Regions from separate parts of the Homo sapiens genome. Here region 1 is linked to region 2. The links are contacts of gene promoters, found by promoter capture Hi-C in blood cells and fetal thymus (Javierre and others, 2016). All regions are on one chromosome and are shown on one strand. Each heading gives the region's core, a stretch centred on a gene start or on the middle of the fragment in contact. The rest is flanking DNA. Distances are from core to core; before and after follow the strand shown. Region 1 has its middle 26 kb from the start of RAB11FIP5. Region 2 holds the start of EMX1 (empty spiracles homeobox 1).

Region 1 (4,157 bases), core at 1,239-3,738, 220 kb before region 2:
AGGGAACTGTATAGCTATAAATACCTAGATTAGAAAAGAAGAATGGTCTCATATCAACAATCTAAGCTTCTACTTTAAGCAACTGGAAAAAGAAGGAACAATTAAATCTGAAGCAAACAGCAGAAAGAAAATAAAGATTAGAGTGGAAATAAGAAATAGAAAACAGAAGTCCGGGCGCAGTGGCTCACACCTGTAATCCCAGCACTTTGGAGGGCCGAGGCGGGTGGATCACCTGAGGTCGGGAGTTCGAGACCAGCCTGACCAACATGGAGAAACCCAGTCTCTACTAAAAATACAAAATTATCCAGATGTAGTGGCGCATGCCTGTAATCCCAGCCACTCAGGAGGCTGAGGCAGGAGAATCACTTGAACCTGGGAGGCAGAGGTTGCAGTGAGCTGAGATCGCACCATTGAACCATTGCACTCCAGCCTGGGCAAGAGGAGTGAAACTCTGTCTCAAAAAAAAAAAAAAAAAAAAAATAGAAAACAGAAAAATGATAGAGAAAAATCAATAAAACAAAAGGTCTGTTTTTTGAAAAGGTTAACAAAATTGAGAAATTTTTAGCTAGACTGACCAAGAGAAAGAGAAAACATAAATTACAAAATCACTACTGACCACACAGAAACAAAAATAATTACAAGGAAATATTACAAATTGAACAATTTGGATGAAATGGACAAATTCCCAGAAAGATACAGATTATTAAAACTGACTCAAGAAGAAATAAAGTCTGAATAGGCCTATAGCAAGTAAATAATGGGATTAGTACTTAAAATCTCCCCACAAAGAAAAACCCAGTCACAGAACACTTTACTAGTGAATTCTATCAAATAATTTAAAAACACATAATACCAATCTTTCACAAATTATTTCAGAAAATAGGGGAAGAAAGTACACTTCCGAACTCATTCTGTGAGGCCAGTATTACCCTGATTCAAGACAAAGATATCATATGAAAAGAAAGCTACAGACCAACATCCTTTTTGAACACAGATGTAAAAATCCTTAGCACAAAATTAGCAAATAAAACCCAGCAACACATACATAGAAGCGTATACCATGACCAAGTGGGCTTTATCCCAGGAAAGCAAGGTTGAGTTAACATCTGAAAACCAATTAAGATGAATCACTGTATTAATAAAATAAAGGACAAAATCATATGATCTCAACAGATGCAGAAAAAACATTTGACAAAATCCAACATCCATTGATGGTTAAAAAAAAACCCTTGAACTTGGAATAAAAGGGAGCTCTCTTAACTTGATAAAGCATATCTAACTGAAACCTACCATCAACATTACATATAATGATGCAAGACTGAATGTTTCTCCTTGAGATCAGGAACAAGGCAAGAATGTCAGCTCTTGCCACTTTCAATCAACATTGTCCTGGAGATTCAAGTCAGTGTGATAAGGCCAAAAAATAAGAATAAAGGCATCAACATTGGAAAAGAAGTAAAACTGTCTTTTTTTCCCACAGATGACGTGATCCTGTATATAGAAACAACAACAAACTACTGTTGTCGCCTGTAATCTCAGCACTTAGAGAGGCCAAGGCAGGAGGATTGCTTGAGCCAGCCTGGGCAACATAGCAAGACCCATCTCTAAAAACAAAACAAAACAGATAAACTATTATTGTTAAGATAGCAATATTGTAATATTGCCCAAATGGATCTGCAAATTTAATGCAATCCTGTGACATAACAAGAAATATATATTTGGTCTCTTCCCCGGGTTCCTAGCACAGAGCTGCTAAAAGTCTTGTGATTCCCCTGAGTGATAGGGGTGAGAGGAACACCTTTGGTTATTCATAATAAGCCCCTTTCAACCATACCTGGGTTTATGCTAATGAGGTGACTCTTGGAGGATGGGGGCTGGTTGACAGAGGAACCAACCTTGTAATTAGAGGGTTGGAATTTTCAGCCCCATCTCTTTGACCTCTGGGGAGGGGAGAAGGGCTGAAGATTAATGTCAGTCACAGAAGGTCAATGATTTAATAAATCATGCCTACATAATGGGACTTCCATAAAAACCCTAAATGACAGGGTTTGGAGATCTTCCAGGTTGGTGAACACATTAAGGTGCTGGGAGGGTGCGAGGCCTGAAAGGCTATGGAAGCTCTGTGCCCCTCCCTCCTCATACCCTGTCTCTTCCATTTGGCTGTTCCTGAGTTGTATCCTTTATAATAAACCGTACATGTAAGTGCTTCCCTGAGTTCTGCGAGCCATTACAGCAGATTATTGAATCTGAATAGGTGGTTGTAGGAAACCCTCACTTGTAGCTAAGTCACACAGAAGTGTGGGTAACCTGGGGACCCATTACTTGAGATTGGCATTTGAAGTCAGGGGCAGTATTGTGGGACTGAGCCCTTAAGCTTTGGGGTCTCACACTAACTCCAGGTAGCTACTGTCAGAGTTGAATTGAGTCATTGGACACCCAGTTGATGTTTGCAGAGAACTGAAGAATTGCTTGATGTGCGGGGAAAAAAATCCCAGACATTTGGTTTCGGAAGTGTTTTTGAGTATAGAAAACCTGTTTGTTTTCCCCTTTCAATACCTATCAAAATCTTGGTTGCCATTTTTGCTGAAATTGACAAGCTTATTCTAAAATTAATATGGAAATGCAAAGGATCTGGAATAGTGAAAATGATCTTGGAAAATAACAAAACTGGAGGACTCACACTTTCTGATTTCAAAACTTACTACAAAGCTACAGTAATCAAAACAATGTGGTATTGGCATAAGGATAGACATACAGGCCAATGGACTAGAATTTAGAGCTCAGACCTCACATGTAAGGTCTACTTATTTTTGGCCAAGGCAATTCAGTGGGAAAAGATATTTAATACAGTGTTGGTAAGGATGTGGAGAAACCAGATACCTCATACATTTCTGATGAGAATGTAAAATGGGCTAGGCACAGTGGCTTATGCTTGTAATCCCAGCACTTTGGGAGGCTGAGGTGGGTGGATCACTTGAGGTCAGGAGTTTGAGACCAGCCTGGCCCACATGGTGAAACCATGTCTCTACTAAAAATACAAAAAAATTAGCCGGGTGTGGGGGCGCATGATAGTCTCAGATATTCGGGAGGTTGAGGCAGGAGAATCAGTTGAGCCCAGGTGGCAGAGGTTGCAGTGAGCTGAAATTGTGTCACTGCACTTCAGCCTGGGCGACAGAGGGAGACCCTGTCTCAAAAAAAAAAAAAAAAAAAAAAAAAGAAAAAAGGAAAAGAAAAAGAGAATGTAAAATGTTACAGCCACTTCGAAGAACAGTTTGGCAGTTTCTTAAAAAGTTAAAACGAAAAACTTACCATTCCTAGGTATCTACCCAAAAGAAATGAAAACATATGTCCACAAAGACTTGTACATGAATATTCAGAGCAGCACTATTCATAATAACCCCAAACAGGAAACAGTCCAAATATCCATAAACAGGTTAATGGATCAACAAAATGTGGTAATGTGGTATATTCACACGACAGAACACAGCAATGAAAAGGAACTGCTTTTTTTTTTTTTTTTTGAGATGGAGTCTTGCTCTGTCGCCAGGCTGGAGTGCAGTGGCGCGATCTTGGCTCACTGCAACCTCTGCCTCCCGGATTCAAGCAATTCTACTGCCTCAGCCTCCTGAGTGGCTGGGATTACAGGCGCCCGCCACCACGCCCGGCTAATTTTTTTTTTTTTTTTGAGACAGAGTCTCGCTGTCACCCAGGCTGGAGTGTAGTGGCGCGACCTCGGCTCACTGCAAGCTCCGCCTCCCGGGTTCACGTCATTCTCCTGCCTCAGCCTCCCGAGTAGCTGGGACTACAGGCGCCCGCCGCCACGCCGGGCTAATTTTTTGTATTTTTAGTAGAGACGGGGTTTCACCGTGTTAGCCAGGATGGTCTCGATCTCCTGACCTCGTGATCTGCGTGCCTCGGCCTCCCAAAGTGCTGGGATTACAGGCGTGAGCCACCGCGCTCGGCCAAAAAGGAACTACTTTTTAGTAAAAAGGTCAGGCGTGGAAGCTCATGCGTATAATCCCGGCACTTTGGGATGCTGGGGTGGGAAGATCCCTTGAACCCAGGAGTTCAAGACCAACCTGGGCAACATAGAGAGACCCTATCTCTACAATAATAATAATTTAAAAAAGATGAAAAAGAAGGAACTACTAATATAC
Region 2 (4,278 bases), core at 1,699-4,198:
GACGATGGACCGCGAAGCAACAGCGCTACAGGGTTCGAAAAGTCCTTCAGTGCCCAACGGATTTCCGGGTCCGAAAATGCAGCCACACTTGGCTCCATCTCCGCGTCCAGACTCGGTTCTTGAGGGAAAAATCCAACTGTTTGTGCTACTCGATAACGTACCCGCTGGGACTGATGGCTCAGGAAGCGGCGGCAATTTCCAAGAGGGTTTTGCGAAGGATTTATCCGCCTCGCCTGACTGGAGACGCTCAGAGCCGGAGCTGGATTTCTCTCCAGGCGCCCCCGGCCCTCGGCGCCCGGAGGCAGGAACCGCGGTGCGGAGGGCGTCAGGGGCTGGATTCGAAGCCGAGGGTGCGGCCCAGGATGCCGACTCCGGACAAGCTGAACGGCTGGAGGCCACAGGACTTAGGAACGACCCCGCCCTCTCCTCCGAGCCCCTATCCCTCCACAAGCCTCCAACCCGCCAGCCCCTCGGCCGCGGCGGCCCGCGGGCTCACACACCGCCCCAACTACAACTCGGCCCCTGGGCGCCAGGTTTCGAGACCCAGGCTTCGGATCGAGCCCACGGAGGACCAGGGTAGATTGCTCAATTTTAAAGATATCCTCATGTTATCAGTAAACATTTATTTTTAAGTGGCAGAAACTCTTGCCCAAGGCAGATGACATTGTAGCATTTTTGTTTTTTCGGATTTGGATTTGGGCAAGTCTTTGAAATCTTCAAAGAGGAGGCAAGGCTACCCACAACAATTCTTATTCTAGTAATTACATTCTCTGGTTTTGTGGTATCTGCCAGGTCAGCATCTATTGGCCAGGTGGGACTGAAAAAATTGCCTGACAAATCGGGACCTGGGAAAGCGGTTTTCTGTGAAAGTCAAAGTGTCAAGAGATAATTTTCATTTTATTATCTAAACAACTGTGCCAAACATCTAATTGACTGTAGACCTAGACTACAGACCGTCACATTAGCTCCTGGAGCCGAAGCTCCAGCCATGTCCCTTTCATTTGTTTCTCTAAAAGCCGGGTTACCTAGCTCTGAGCCATAGACCCTTCTCACAAGGCTGTGGTCTGGTCTACACTAACAAAATAAAACTGGAAACTAAAGTGATGCCTGTACAAATCAAGGCCACTCTTTAAAATAAAATTTAAAAAAAAAGAAAAGAAAAAAACAAACTCCAACAAATTTCAAGGAAGAAAACGAACTCCAACAAATGCAACTCTCTTTTCTCCGGGAAAGACAAATAATTGAAACGTGTGTGTGTGTGTGTGTGTGTGTGTGTGTGTGTGTGTAGGGCCAGTGGAGGATCTTTATTAGCAAGCCGATTGCTGGATGCAAACTCCGGGGTTCGGACTGGCTACGACCTTAAAAGCCCTCTGCCCCCGCCCCCTGCCCGGGAAAACTGTCCTCGGTATTCCAGCAGCCGGGTGGGCTCCCTCCCGAAGGCGGCGAGCAACGGCGGAAGCCAGTTTGCTTACTGCAAACCTTCCCCACCTTGGGTAGGAGAGGCACGTGTGACTTGGAGAAGTCGGGCCAAGGTTGCCGAGAAACATCCCAAGACAGCCAGGCCCTCCACACTGAACATTAACTCTCCGATTCGCCCTCCCTGCTGCCCTTGCTTCCCCCAGAGCTGGGGCACGCGAATGGACTTTCCCCCGCCCGGACGCGCCAGCGAAGGCTGAGGTCTCGGAGGTGGTGGTGGACTTGCGAGAGAAGCGTGGTGCGAGGTTAAGCCGGGCGGAGGGAGAGCGGGAGGAGTTGTACTCTGGTCTGAGACTGGCTCAGCTGGGAGAGAGAATTGGGCAGGCTGTGGCGAGGGCCAGCACAGGCTCCGAGGACGCGCCTGGGCTTGCGTCCGAACTGGTATATTTTCTAGAAAAGCCTGGAGGTCTCCACCTGCTTTCCTGGGAGGGAGACCTACGCGGCGAAGGCGCGGGTGGATGCCGCACAGCTCTTCCCTGCCTGGGAATCTACCTCCGCGGACCTGCAGCCTTCCCGGCAGTAACTTCTAAACAGCCCCGCGCGCCCCCGAGCCTCCCCCGCATCGCCGCAGCACGGGCGCCGGCCGGCCGCCTCGGCGGGCACAGCGTGGACACTCACCCTGGAAGCGGTGGCCGAAGAAGCGGTTCCGCAGGACCCAGGGGTAGAAATGGAGAGGGTCCCGGTGCTGGGCGCCGAAGAAGGAGTGCGGGGGCTGCAGCGGGGAGGCGCCCAGCTGGTGCGCCGGATGCACGGTCAGCGCGGGGTGGTTCATGGCCTCGGGGAACACGAGCTCGGGCCCACCGTAGAGCGAGCGGCCCGCGCCCGCGGCGGCCGCGGCAGGGAAGCCACTCACGAAGGCCGCCTCGGCCGCGCTGGGGTGAGGGTAGTTGAGCGCCGTGGGCCGGAGCGGTTCCTCGGAGGCGGCCGCCGCCAGGAGATGGGAGCCCGCGCCCCCGCCGCCAGTGCCCCCGCCGGTGCCGCCGTCCTTGGCCACCAAGGACTCTATGGTAAAGCCGCGCTTGGCCGCGGGCTGGAACATGGTCGCAGCCGCGGGAGCTGTGCGAGGCAGCCGGGCTCTGGGGAGCGCTCCGCGTCCTGGCGCCGCCGCCTTGCGGGGTGTGCACCCAGCCAGGCACATGCACACCCGCCCGCACCCCTCACCTCCCCCGCCCGCCCGCTCGCGCTCGGCCCCCGCGGGCGAGCCAGGCGCGGAGCGGCGAGGGGTGTGTGAGCGAGCGACCGCGGGGTCCGGCCACAGCGTACGGCCAGGCGCGGCGGCTGCTGCGGCGGAGCGGGCAGCTCCAGGCGCCCGCACAGGCGCGGGCTCCGTGCTAGGCTGCGAGCTGCCAGTAAGGCCCGAGGGTTGAGCTCGTCTCCCTCCTTTCGGAGTCCCGCTGGGACCGACCCCAGCCCCCGGTGTCCCCGCACTGCCCTGCCCAGCCCCGGCCGCCCAGCGCTGCGAGGCGCGAGTTAGCGGGCACCTGCCCCGCGCTCGCCCATTGGCCGCCGCTCACCTGCCCCAAGGTGGGGGGCGGGGCGGGGCGGGGCGAGGGACGGCGGGTGGGGAGGGAGCCCGCAGTCGGAGGCAAAAGCCGGACTGGAGCCTTCGCGGGGAGATCCAGGCCTCCTCCTCCCCTCGCCACTGGCTTCTCCTCGCGACTCCGCCCTTTAGCTGAGTCTGGTGGCCGTGCCGCCGTCTCAACCCACGCGGGAGCCGAAGAAGGCGTCCGAAGGGCTTGGGGCTAAACTCCAACCCTCCCCTCCCCGGTGTGTAGCTCAGCCTAACTCTCCCATTCGTCCCGGGATGTCGTTTCAGTTCTCAGAGAACTTGGATCCGAGCGGAGGGTGGATGTTTGGGGTCCAACACATTGGTTTTCCCGAAAACCAGCTCTCTGCCCCCCTGCTCTCCGGGACTCTCCCACTCACCCACCATCGGCCTCCTGGGCCGCGGTCTGAAGCTGCGACCTTGTTCCTGAGGTTTCGCGTTTTCTGGATGTCACGGGGGACAGCTCTGGAAAGGGGACGCTCACTCCCTTCACAAGGGGCCAGGCGGGGCACTGCGCGGGAGAAGCCGCCGGAGCGGTCCCACTGCCACCCTCCAGCTGTTCGCGGGGCTGGAAGCAGCTCCAGTGCCCAGACACGGTGCCGCGACCGGCTTGGACCAGGACGGCGGGCCTCGGCACTGGGAGATCCACCCCCTCGCCTTCTCTGAGGCTCTGGGGGCTCAAGTGTCGGCGGGCCGGACCAGGTCAGGGCCTCGGAGACACTGTGGCTTAAATTGAAGCTGGCCAAGTAGCCCGAGCCCATCTCAAGAGAACACGCCAGCCGTCAGGACACGCAGAAGCAGCCTGACCTCCCTCGACCTTCACCTTCCACCCGCGACCGCGGAACCGCGGACGACTCTGCTCCGGCCAGTTTTTCCGTACGGCGGACGAATTCCCCGGGGGCAGTTCTCACGACAGGCTGTGAGAGCCGGGACTCCCCAAACTTTCCCACCCCACCTTCGAGGCCGCAGAAAGGCGCCGCTCCGAGGCCTAGGAGGGCGCGGGCGGCGGTGGGGAGGCTGGGACCTGGACCTTGCCGGCGCACTGCGGAGAGGGAGCCGCAGAGAGTTCCGCTTCCTCGCCGCTGCCGGGGTCCATTCTAGCGGCCTGAGCGCTGCCTGGGCGCGCAGATCTGGGTTGGGCCTCCTGACGCCCCAAGGCCACGGGGTCCGTGCGCCGCGCAACTCTGCGGGGACTCCAGGCCGGGTCTTGGCAGCGGCCCGCCTGAGCGCCGGGAGCCGTGGTTTGGAGAGCGCTC

What was found. The method cuts DNA at HindIII sites, captures the fragments that hold promoters and counts their contacts. A CHiCAGO score of 5 or more calls a contact.
Region 1: a contact is called between a fragment that was not itself captured here and the fragment with the promoter of EMX1 in region 2, in 1 of 17 cell types (endothelial precursors). The highest score is 5.0, in endothelial precursors.

What each region holds. Positions count from the first base shown.
Region 1 is chr2:73,136,827-73,140,983 of GRCh38, reverse strand. No RefSeq gene overlaps it. Among named protein-coding and RNA genes, the nearest start is that of RAB11FIP5, 26 kb to the right of the region's middle. The HindIII fragment of the contact is 223 bases long and covers 2,377-2,599 here.
Region 2 is chr2:72,916,189-72,920,466 of GRCh38, reverse strand. It overlaps EMX1 (empty spiracles homeobox 1), which reads right to left and starts at 2,948. Exons shown (of 3, transcript NM_004097.3): 1 at 2,095-2,948. The coding sequence starts at 2,614. RefSeq lists silencers at 2,543-2,662, 2,733-3,152 and enhancers at 2,967-3,583, 3,584-4,201. The HindIII fragment of the contact is 6,474 bases long and covers 1-4,278 here.